Regions from separate parts of the Homo sapiens genome. Here regions 1 and 2 are each linked to region 3. The links are contacts of gene promoters, found by promoter capture Hi-C in human tissues and cell types (Jung and others, 2019). All regions are on one chromosome and are shown on one strand. Each heading gives the region's core, a stretch centred on a gene start or on the middle of the fragment in contact. The rest is flanking DNA. Distances are from core to core; before and after follow the strand shown. Region 1 holds the start of RASGRP4 (RAS guanyl releasing protein 4). Region 2 holds the start of MAP4K1-AS1 (MAP4K1 antisense RNA 1). Region 3 holds the start of MRPS12 (mitochondrial ribosomal protein S12).

Region 1 (3,221 bases), core at 618-3,117, 500 kb after region 3:
ACACCTGGCTCATTTTTGTATTTGTAGTAGAGATGGGAGTTTCACCATGTTGGCCAGACGGGTCTCGAACTCCTGACCTCAAGTGATCTGCCCATCTCAGCCTCCCAAAGTGCTGGGATTACAGGCGTGAGCCACCGCGCCCGGCCAAAAAAAGGAATAAATTATAACCAAATATGATAACATGGAAGAACTGCAAAGACAAGACGTGGAGAGAAAGAACCCAGATTCAATACAGGAGTCCATTTTTATCCAGCTCAAAACAAGACAAAACTACTGCGCCAGACTTCGGGCGAGTGGGGATCTGTGGGAATTCGTGCTGGGAAGAAAGACAGGGGGCTTGTGGAGGGTGAGAATGTTCTGTGTCTGGATTTGTATGAATGTCACACAGGTTTGCTCAGTTGGTGACATTTCATCAACCTAAATACTTAATGATTCGTGATCTTTTTTGTACTTCAATTTAAAAAAAAGTGTCGAGCATGACACATTTAGGTAAAAAGAAAAAAATGCACACTCAAAAGAAAAGTCTGTTTCTAGGAGCACATGTTTATATGATGTGCTTAAACGCACAGACAGCAGTTTGGACGAAACTCGACAACGTGTCATATTGGTCACACCCTGCTTAAGAAAGGCAGGGGATGGGGAGGGGCTTCCCCAAGGCTTTACCTCCATCTCTAATGTTTTTTGATGTGTGTGTGTGTTTTTTTTTTTTGTTTTTTGTTTTTTGAGACAGGGTCTGGCTCTGCCACGCAGACTGAAGTGCAGTGGCACCATCATGGTTCACTGCAGCCTCGACCTCCTTGGGCTCAAGCAATCTTCTAGCCTCAGCCTCCTGAGTAGCTGGGACTACAAGTGTGCATCACTACGCTCAGCTAACTTTTTTTTTTTGAGACAGAGTTTCGCTCCTGTTGCCCAGGCTGGAGTGCAATGGCGCGATCTCGGCTCACGGCAACCTCCGCCTCCTGGGTTCAAGCAATTCTCCTGCCTCAGCCTGCCGAGTAGCTGGGATTACAGGCATGTGCCACAACGCCTGGCTAATTTTGTATTTTTAGTAGAGACGGGGTTTCTCCATGTTGCTCAGGCTGGTCTTAAACTCCCAACCTCAGGTGATCCGCCCACCTCGGCCTCCCAAAGTGCTGGGATTGCAGGAGTGAGCCACCACACCGGCCTAACGTTTTACATTTTTTGTAGAGACGGGGTTTTGTCACGTTGTTCAAGCTGGTCTCAAACTCTTAGACTCAAGCGATCCGCCTGCCTTGGCCTCCCAAAGTGCTGGATGACAGGCGTGAGCCCCTGTGAGCCCCCGTGCCTGGTCCGGTATGTAATTTTTTTTAAGGTAACAGTGGATTGTGTGAGGATTAAATGAGTTAATATTTTTAAAGTCCTTACAGCAGTGTGTGGTACACAGTAGGTGCTATGTGGAGGTTTGTTACAATAAAGTCAGAAAGTGAAAATGTTTTCCAGGGTACAAATGGTATCACTTAAACTAGGAATAAGAGACGCCTATGAAGAAATATACAAAATACTATGTCTTGTGAGTTTCCATTCAAACCTTCATGAATTATATATATGAATATGTCCTTCTAGACAGACAGACTTATCTTTTTGAGTGAGTGTGTGTGTTTTTACATAAATATCAGTCATGCTTTAAAAAGAAAAGCCCCTTCTTTTATTGAAGTATGACAGTGACGGGTCTCGACACCGAAAGATGGGGGAGATAGAGAGCCCGCCGGGGAGCTTGAGGGTGGGAGAGCCAGCGATGCCGGAAACCTCAGCAGAAGGGATCCCCGTGTGGGGGAGGGGGGCCTTCGGTCTCTCCCCAGCCTCTTCCTTCCCCCTGGCCTGAGGGTGGGTGGGGAGGGGCAGTTCCTCTTTCCTTCCCAAGCACCGAGGAGGCCCCAGCTCCCTAGGGGCTGAGAAGCTGGAGTCCTGGGCAAGGGGAGGAGCTGAGCCCTACTCTTGCAAGACCCCCGGCCTCCTCACCCCACGCGGGAAGCATGAACAGAAAAGACAGTAAGAGGTGAGAGGACCCTCCCCAGGGAGCCCGGCAGCACCCTGAGGCCTCCCTCTGCATGGGAGGGCTGGGGAGATCACTCGCCAGGGTGGCAGGATTCCTGACTTCTTTGGGATCAGGCGCAGGGGGGCCAGGTGGATGCTTCAGGGAGTCTGGAGCCAGCTACGGCTGCAGTCGCTTGTATGTGGCATCTGTACCGTGTTGTCCCTGGAGTTTGAGCTGCTCCGTGCCCCTTTTCCACTCCTCATCACCCCACCTCCATCCCTGGCCTGGGCTGAGTGTCTCTGCCCTCCCTGGGGGCTTCCTGGTTCCCCATCCCCGTGGACTGGAAACTCCAGGCTCCTGCAGGGCCTGGCCCAGGAGAGGGGAGTGTGGCACAGGGCAAGGCGACTCCCCTGCCTCTTAAACCACTCCTGGCTGTTCCAGACCCCTACAGGGGGCTGCAGGACAGGGCCTAGTGGCTGGCTGTGCGGCCGGTTCTGGAATGGGCTTCATCTCCTGGGCAAGCTGGCCCTTCTGTCCCCACAGAGGCAGATGGTGGGTGGCTCCCTAGCCTGGGTAACTCCTCCTGCCACCCCCAGCACCACTCTGATGGGCAAAGGGCTTTCCTCCCCACCCAGCAGTTTAGTGGTAGACTCCTGGCTGCCTAATTTCCTAGCTGTGTGACCTTAGGTAAGTCACTTAACTGCTCTGTGTCTCGGGTTTTTCTTCTGTCAGTAGAACAATCATATCCTCTACCTCGGAGAGGCCTGTAAGTACTCAATGAGACACTCTAGACCAGTGGTTCTCAAACTGGAGCGAGCCTCAGAACTGTCTGGAGGGCTTGTAAAATACAGGTTGCTGGGCTTACCTTTAAAGTGTTTGGTTTTTTTTTTTTTGTTTTTTTTTTTTGAGACGGAGTCTCGCTCTGCCGCCAGGCTGGAGTGCAGTGGCACAATCTTGGCTCACTGCAACCTCTGCCTCCCGGGTTCAAGCGATCATCCTGCCTCAGCCTCCCAAGTAGCTGGGACTACAGGTGTGCACCACCACACCCAGCTACTTTTTTGTATTTTTAGTAGAGATGGGGTTTCACCATGTTGGGCAGGATGGTCTCGATCTCTTGACCTCGTGATCCACCCACCTCGGCCTCCCAAAGTGCTGGGATTAGAGGCATGAGCCACCACCCTTAGCCTTAAAGTGTTTGATTTTGTAGGTCTGGGTTGGGACCTGA
Region 2 (3,165 bases), core at 459-2,958, 340 kb after region 3:
GTGGTACCAGCCCATGAACAAATTCCTGCTTGTCCGGGTAAGGGGCTTGGGAGGGTGCTGGGAACTCTGAGGAGTGGGTGGCTAAGGCCTTGCACCCTTTGCGCTTCTATCAAGAGCTCCATGAAGCCCCACCTCCGTCGAGGCCCCGCCCCAATCTCCCGAGGCCCCGCCCACCTGCGGTCTGCGCTTGGAGCCTCGTCCTTCTGAAGCCATCCTGATCCTTAAGCGCCGCCCCTCACACCTGGGCCTAATTATTCCTCAGGCTCAATGCTGCCACTCCCTGGGTGTCCTAGTAGAGCCCATTTAGAGCCTGTCTCTTTGAGTGTCTAAGCAGGTTTTGCTATCTTTGGGGCCCTGCCCGTCTGCCGCCAAGGTGGCATGCCCCCACATGGAAGCCACACCCACTCGGAGGTCACGACCCCCGTTCCCGCGGAGGCACCAGGCCTTATCCCCTGACATTTCTAGACGGCATCCCCCAAGACTTAGGGCCCTGGTTCGGAAGTCCCAGGCCAGCTACAAGCCACGCCCCCTGAGGCCCCGTCCTGAACCACCCCCTAGCCCGCCCCTCCCTGTGCGGCCCGCAGCAGGTGCTGTTCCCACTGCCGACGCCTCTGTCCGTGTTCGCGCTGCTGACCGGGCCAGGCTCTGAGCTGCCCGCTGTGTGCATCGGCGTGAGCCCCGGGCGGCCGGGGAAGTCGGTGCTCTTCCACACGGTGCGCTTTGGCGCGCTCTCTTGCTGGCTGGGCGAGATGAGCACCGGTGAGTGGGGCGGAGTCTTGCTGAGGGCGGGGCTTATCAGATCCGGAGGGGCGGAGCTGGAGGCGGGGCTTCGCTTAGCCTGAGGCACTACGGGACTGAGAAAGGGCTGGAAGGGCGGAGAAGGGAGAATGGCAGGTTTTAGTTAACTGGGGAGATTGATGATGGGGTGGGACCGGGATGGTGGGCGGGGTTTAGCCCACTTGCTTGTGAACTGAGGCGGTGGCTAAAGCACAGGTACTGGCCTTCTGGGGGTGGTGTGGGGAAAGGGGAATGGGGTGGGGTCAATCCTTAACCCACTCCCCCCAAACAGAGCACAGGGGACCCGTGCAGGTGACCCAGGTAGAGGAAGATATGGTGATGGTGTTGATGGATGGTGAGAACCCTCCTTCCTCCCCTTCCTCCCCACCCCTCCAGCTGCAGTCCCTAGATCTCTGCCTCCGAACTTGTGCTTCTCAGAACCCCCTGAGCCCCTCTGGGCCTTGCCCCTGTCCTACATAGCTTTCACACTGAATTTATGGATTGGTCCCTTAGTAACCCTCTAAGCCTTGCTCACAGTTCTTAAAACCGTCTATCTCCTTCCAGGCTCTGTGAAGCTGGTGACCCCGGAGGGGTCCCCAGTCCGGGGACTTCGCACACCTGAGATCCCCATGACCGAAGCGGTGGAGGCCGTGGGTCTGTGCAGGGACGGGAGAGCCCAGGATCAGGGGTGGAAACTCAAGTGATCCCCAAGGGTAACGGGCATTGCTTTCTCCCCAGCTATGGTTGGAGGTCAGCTTCAGGCCTTCTGGAAGCATGGAGTGCAGGTGTGGGCTCTAGGCTCGGATCAGGTAAGCCCCTCCATCCAAACTCCACATCACTGCCCCCCAGCCTCCATCATGACATTCATCAGATGGGCTCCGAGAACTCCTGAGTCAGAGTGTGAAGTCCTGGAGGGGAAACATCTTCCAAATTTCAGTTCAGATAGATCCCCTTCTTTGCCCCAGGATTTATTTTTTATTTTATTTTTATTTATTTATTTATTTAAGACGGAGTTTCACTCTTGTTGCCCAGGCTGGAGTGCAGTGGTGCGATCCCGGCTCACTGCAACCTCCACCTCCCGGGTTCACGCGATTCTCCTGCCTCGGCCTCCCAAGTAGCTGGGATTACAGGCATGCGCCACCACAGCTGGCTAATTTTTGTATTTTCAGTAGAGACGGGGTTTCACCATGTTCATCAGGCTGGATGGTCTTGAACTCTTGACCTGGGGTGATTCACCCGCCTTGGCCTCCCAAAGTGCTGGGATTACAGCTGTCAGCCACCACACCCGGCCTATTTTATAGATAGATAGATAGATAGATAGATAGATAGATAGATAAAATTTATTTATTTTTGGAGATGGATTCTTGCTCTGTCACCCAGGCTGGAGTGTAGTGGCGCGATCTCGGCTCACTGCAGCCTCTGCCTCCCAGGTTCAAAGAATTCTCCTGCCTCAGCCTCCTGAGTAGCTGAGACTACAGGTGCATGCCGCCATGCTTAGCTAATTTTTTTGTATTTTTAGTAGAGACAGGGTTTCACCATGTTGCCCAGGCTAGTCTCAAACTCCTGAGCTCAGCCAATCTGCCTTCCTTGGCCTCACAAAGTGCTAGGATTACAGGTGTGAGCCACCACTCCTGGCCATTTTTATATATTTTTTGAGACAGAGTCTCGCTCTGTCACCCAGGGCAGAGTGCAGTGGCATGATCCGAGCTCACTGCAACCTCTGCCTCCTGGGTCCAAGTGATTCTCCTGCCTCAGCCTCCCGAGTAGCTGGGATTACAGGTACACTCCATCATGCCCAGGTAATTTTTGTATTTTTAGTAGAGACGGGGTTTTGTCATGTTGGCCAGACTGGTCTCGAACTCCTGACCTCAAGTGATCTGCCCGCCTCAGCCTCCGAAAGTGCTGGGAGTACAGGCGTGAGCTACTTCACCCGGCCTGTTTGTTTTGGAGATAGGGTCTCTCTCTCTTGTCCAGGCTGAAGTGCAGTGGTGCAACCATAGCTAGCTGTAGCCTTGACTTTCTGGGCTCAAGCAATCCTCCCTCCTCAGCCTCTCAAGTGGCTTGGATTACAGGTGTGAGCCACTGCACCTGGCTGCTCTTGGATTTCTTGAGTCCCAATCTCATCCTGGGCCACTACTGTGACCTTGGGCTGGCAACGTTGCTTCTCTTTAAGCTTCTGTTCCCCAACTGTAAAATGGGGACCACTATAGAGATATATGGATAGTTAAGACAAGACTGTCTGGGTTGGAATTCAGCTGAGTGGCCTTGGGCAAATGACTTAACCTTCCTGTGCCTCACTGTCCTCATTTGGAAAATGGTGTTTATCTCACAGAATACTGTGTCAGACTTTGCCCTTACACTTTAGTATTTTTATTTATTTATTTTTGC
Region 3 (2,782 bases), core at 268-2,767:
CTTCAGCTGCGGCCGGCCTTCCGTGGGGCCCAGCTTCCGAGGCGGCCGCTTGGGGGGCCCCAGGCGGTGCATCTGGTTCAGGGTAGCCATGGAGCAGGTAGCCCAGAGCCGGGGAACCAGAGCTGGGCCTGGAGAGGGCCGAAAGGGGTTATTATCCCAGAGAACAGATCTTAGAGTAGTAGCAACTCAATTTTGGTGTTTTAGGCATTGTTTAAAGCACTTTACAAAGATGCATTTGTTCACATCTAATGTTATCTACAGACAAAAGTAACTCTTTATTCTTCAAGGAAGCATTACCTTTTTTTTTTTTTTCTTTTTTTTTTTTGAGACAAAGTCTCACTCTGTCGCCCAGGCTGGAGTGCAGTACCTCAATCTTGGCCCACTGCAACCTCTGCCTCCTGGGTTCAAGCAATTCTCCTGTCTCAGCCTCCTGAGCAGCTGGGACTACAGGCACCCACCACCACGCTCGGCTAATCTTCGTATTTTTAAGTAGAGACGGGGTTTCACCATGTTGGTCAGGCTGGTCTCGAACTCCTGACCTCGGCCTCTCAAAGTGCTGGGATTACAGGCGTGAGCCACCACGGCTGGCCAGGAAGCATTATTTTTAATGCTGTTTAAAATAATAGTAGGCTCAGTGGCTCATGCATGTAATCCTAGCACTTTTGGAGGCTGTGGAGGGTCACTTGAGCTCAGGAGTTAAGGCCAGACTGGGCGACACAGGGAGACCTCCCTCTCTACAAAGAATCAAAAAGTTAGCTGGTTGTGGTTCTGCAGGCCTGTGGTCCCAGCTACTTGGGAGGCTGAGGCGGGAGGATCACTTGAGCCCAGGAGGTCGAGACTGCAGTGAGCTGTGATCACACCGCTGCACTTCAGCCTGGGCGACAGAGGGAGATCTTAAATAAATAAATAATAAAACTGACCCAAACGCCGCTTGACACGCAGTAGCCCTCCATGCAGCTGCTTCCCACCTCTTGCTCTAGCAGCCCTAGCTCTGCCAAAACCCCACCGTGTTTTTCCACCCCCGTTTCCCTCGGGGCTCCGACGGAGGCACACAAGTCCAAGAGCGAATAACCCTCCCCCTCTAGCCTCGTCCCTGAAGCCCAAGTCCCCCACTTACCACAAGTTAGGGACGTGTTGAGGCCATGGAGAAGGCCAGACCAGGACATCCTGCCACCTGGGCCGTCCCTGTGGTAGGGGATAAGAGACTCAGAAAGGAGGAAAAAGTGACCGATCCGCAAATGCTCCCCGATCCGCTCTCAGGACTTTCTGGCTTAAATCAAAGGAAATACCTCTATAGGTCTAACCACAGGCCCTCATGCTGCTAACAGAAAGTCCCTCCGTAAATTTAGCCTCGCTCTGAGTGGGTTCCCGAGGGCCCAACCACTCTCGCCCGCACGCAGGAAGAACTGGGAAACTGGGGAGATGGCCTGGTAGATTTGGAGGACCCCAGGATTCCACCGACCTCACAGGACCTAAAGGTGAGGTCGCGGACACGCTGAATCCAGCTTCTAGCCTCTTCCGGGCGCTATCCGTGCAGGGATTGGCTGGTTCTGCCTCGCGTCACTGAAGAGGCGGGACACAGACGACGATTGGGCGACGAAGGACTCTATCGCGGTCAACTTTCCTCAGGATCTGATTGGCTCGTCACGGTCAGGTTCGCTGCCTTGCAATTGGTCTAAACGCGGAGTGGGCGGGACGAAGTGCCGCCTTGTTCCCGGTCCAAGATGGCTGCGTCCATGGCGCGGCGCTTGTGGCCTTTGCTGACTCGTCGGGGGTTCCGGCCCCGGGGAGGCTGCATCTCCAACGATAGTCCAAGGAGAAGTTTCACTACAGAGAAACGAAACCGGAACCTCCTGTACGAGTATGCGCGCGAGGGCTACAGCGCACTCCCTCAGCTGGACATAGAGCGGTTCTGCGCATGCCCAGAAGAGGCCGCACACGCCCTGGAGCTCCGCAAGGGGGAGCTGCGCTCGGCGGACCTGCCCGCGATCGTGAGTGCGCCTGCGCCGGCCGGGGGGCGCAGACGTTTGCTTTACGGAAGAATTGGGTTTGCAAGATGCCCTCCGGCAGGGGGCGAACCTGTAGTAGGAATTTTAGTTATTTCCCAAGTTAGCCAACGTCTTGTGCATGGCACCCACTTATGTGCCAGTTGTCCAGTGAGTGCTGAGGCCCTACTATGTGCCAAGAATGCCTACTGTGTCCTGGACACCCATTATGCGCTTGTTTCATACTGCTCGCTGGGTACCTCCTGTCCTTTAGGAACTTGCTATGTGACATTGCCCTCCGTGCTGCAACCTCATGCCAGCCTTTCCCTAAGACCACAAAGGAAAATGGGGAGCCAAGTGTGAATCGGACGGGGTCAGGGCTGGGGTGTGGTGGAGCTCTTGCGTTTAGAGAGAGAGGTAGGGAGAGTTGTGCACCTCCGCCACACATAGCAGGCAGTTAAATAGAGTTAATGAATGAATGAATGAATCCATTAATGAATGGTTCTATTAAACTGATACTTAAGGTGCAACTGCTATATTCCGGTGTTCTAGATGTTGCAAATATGCGGTGAATAATAATAAAATTGCTAGCACTTATAAAAGGGAATTAGGACCGGGTTCACAATATCTCTGTGTTGAGGTGCTAACGATAGTGGGGTCCCCACGTCTTCCCATTCCTCTCTTGGACTCCCCTCCCAGCCTGTTTGAAGTGCTTTATTCACTTTAACCTCGTTTAATTTTCACAGCAACTCTATGAAGTAGGTGCCATTATTTCTCCCATTTTATCAGAGGGGAAA

Evidence for each region. Contacts are between HindIII fragments. The study calls those that stand out against the background at their distance.
Region 1: the fragment with the promoter of RASGRP4 here is called in contact with the fragment with the promoter of MRPS12 in region 3 in 1 of the 25 tissues and cell types used here (H1 embryonic stem cells).
Region 2: a fragment that was not itself captured here is called in contact with the fragment with the promoter of MRPS12 in region 3 in 1 of the 25 tissues and cell types used here (pancreas).

What each region holds. Positions count from the first base shown.
Region 1 is chr19:38,424,865-38,428,085 of GRCh38, reverse strand. RASGRP4 (RAS guanyl releasing protein 4) reads left to right here and starts at 1,867. Exons shown (of 17, transcript NM_170604.3): 1 at 1,867-2,017. The coding sequence starts at 1,995. RefSeq lists an enhancer at 525-1,039 and a silencer at 1,932-1,991. The HindIII fragment of the contact is 24,204 bases long and covers 1-3,221 here.
Region 2 is chr19:38,593,906-38,597,070 of GRCh38, reverse strand. MAP4K1 (mitogen-activated protein kinase kinase kinase kinase 1) reads left to right here. Exons shown (of 31, transcript NM_001042600.3): 25 at 1-37; 26 at 585-759; 27 at 1,070-1,132; 28 at 1,342-1,431; 29 at 1,516-1,586. MAP4K1-AS1 (MAP4K1 antisense RNA 1) reads right to left here and starts at 724. Exons shown (of 3, transcript NR_134907.1): 1 at 635-724. RefSeq lists an enhancer at 1-337. The HindIII fragment of the contact is 8,643 bases long and covers 1-3,165 here.
Region 3 is chr19:38,929,679-38,932,460 of GRCh38, reverse strand. MRPS12 (mitochondrial ribosomal protein S12) reads right to left here and starts at 1,517. Exons shown (of 3, transcript NM_033362.4): 1 at 1,463-1,517; 2 at 1,118-1,185; 3 at 1-128. The coding sequence starts at 1,166. SARS2 (seryl-tRNA synthetase 2, mitochondrial) reads left to right here and starts at 1,698. Exons shown (of 16, transcript NM_017827.4): 1 at 1,698-1,991. The coding sequence starts at 1,725. RefSeq lists an enhancer at 1,614-2,073. The HindIII fragment of the contact is 13,053 bases long and covers 1-2,782 here.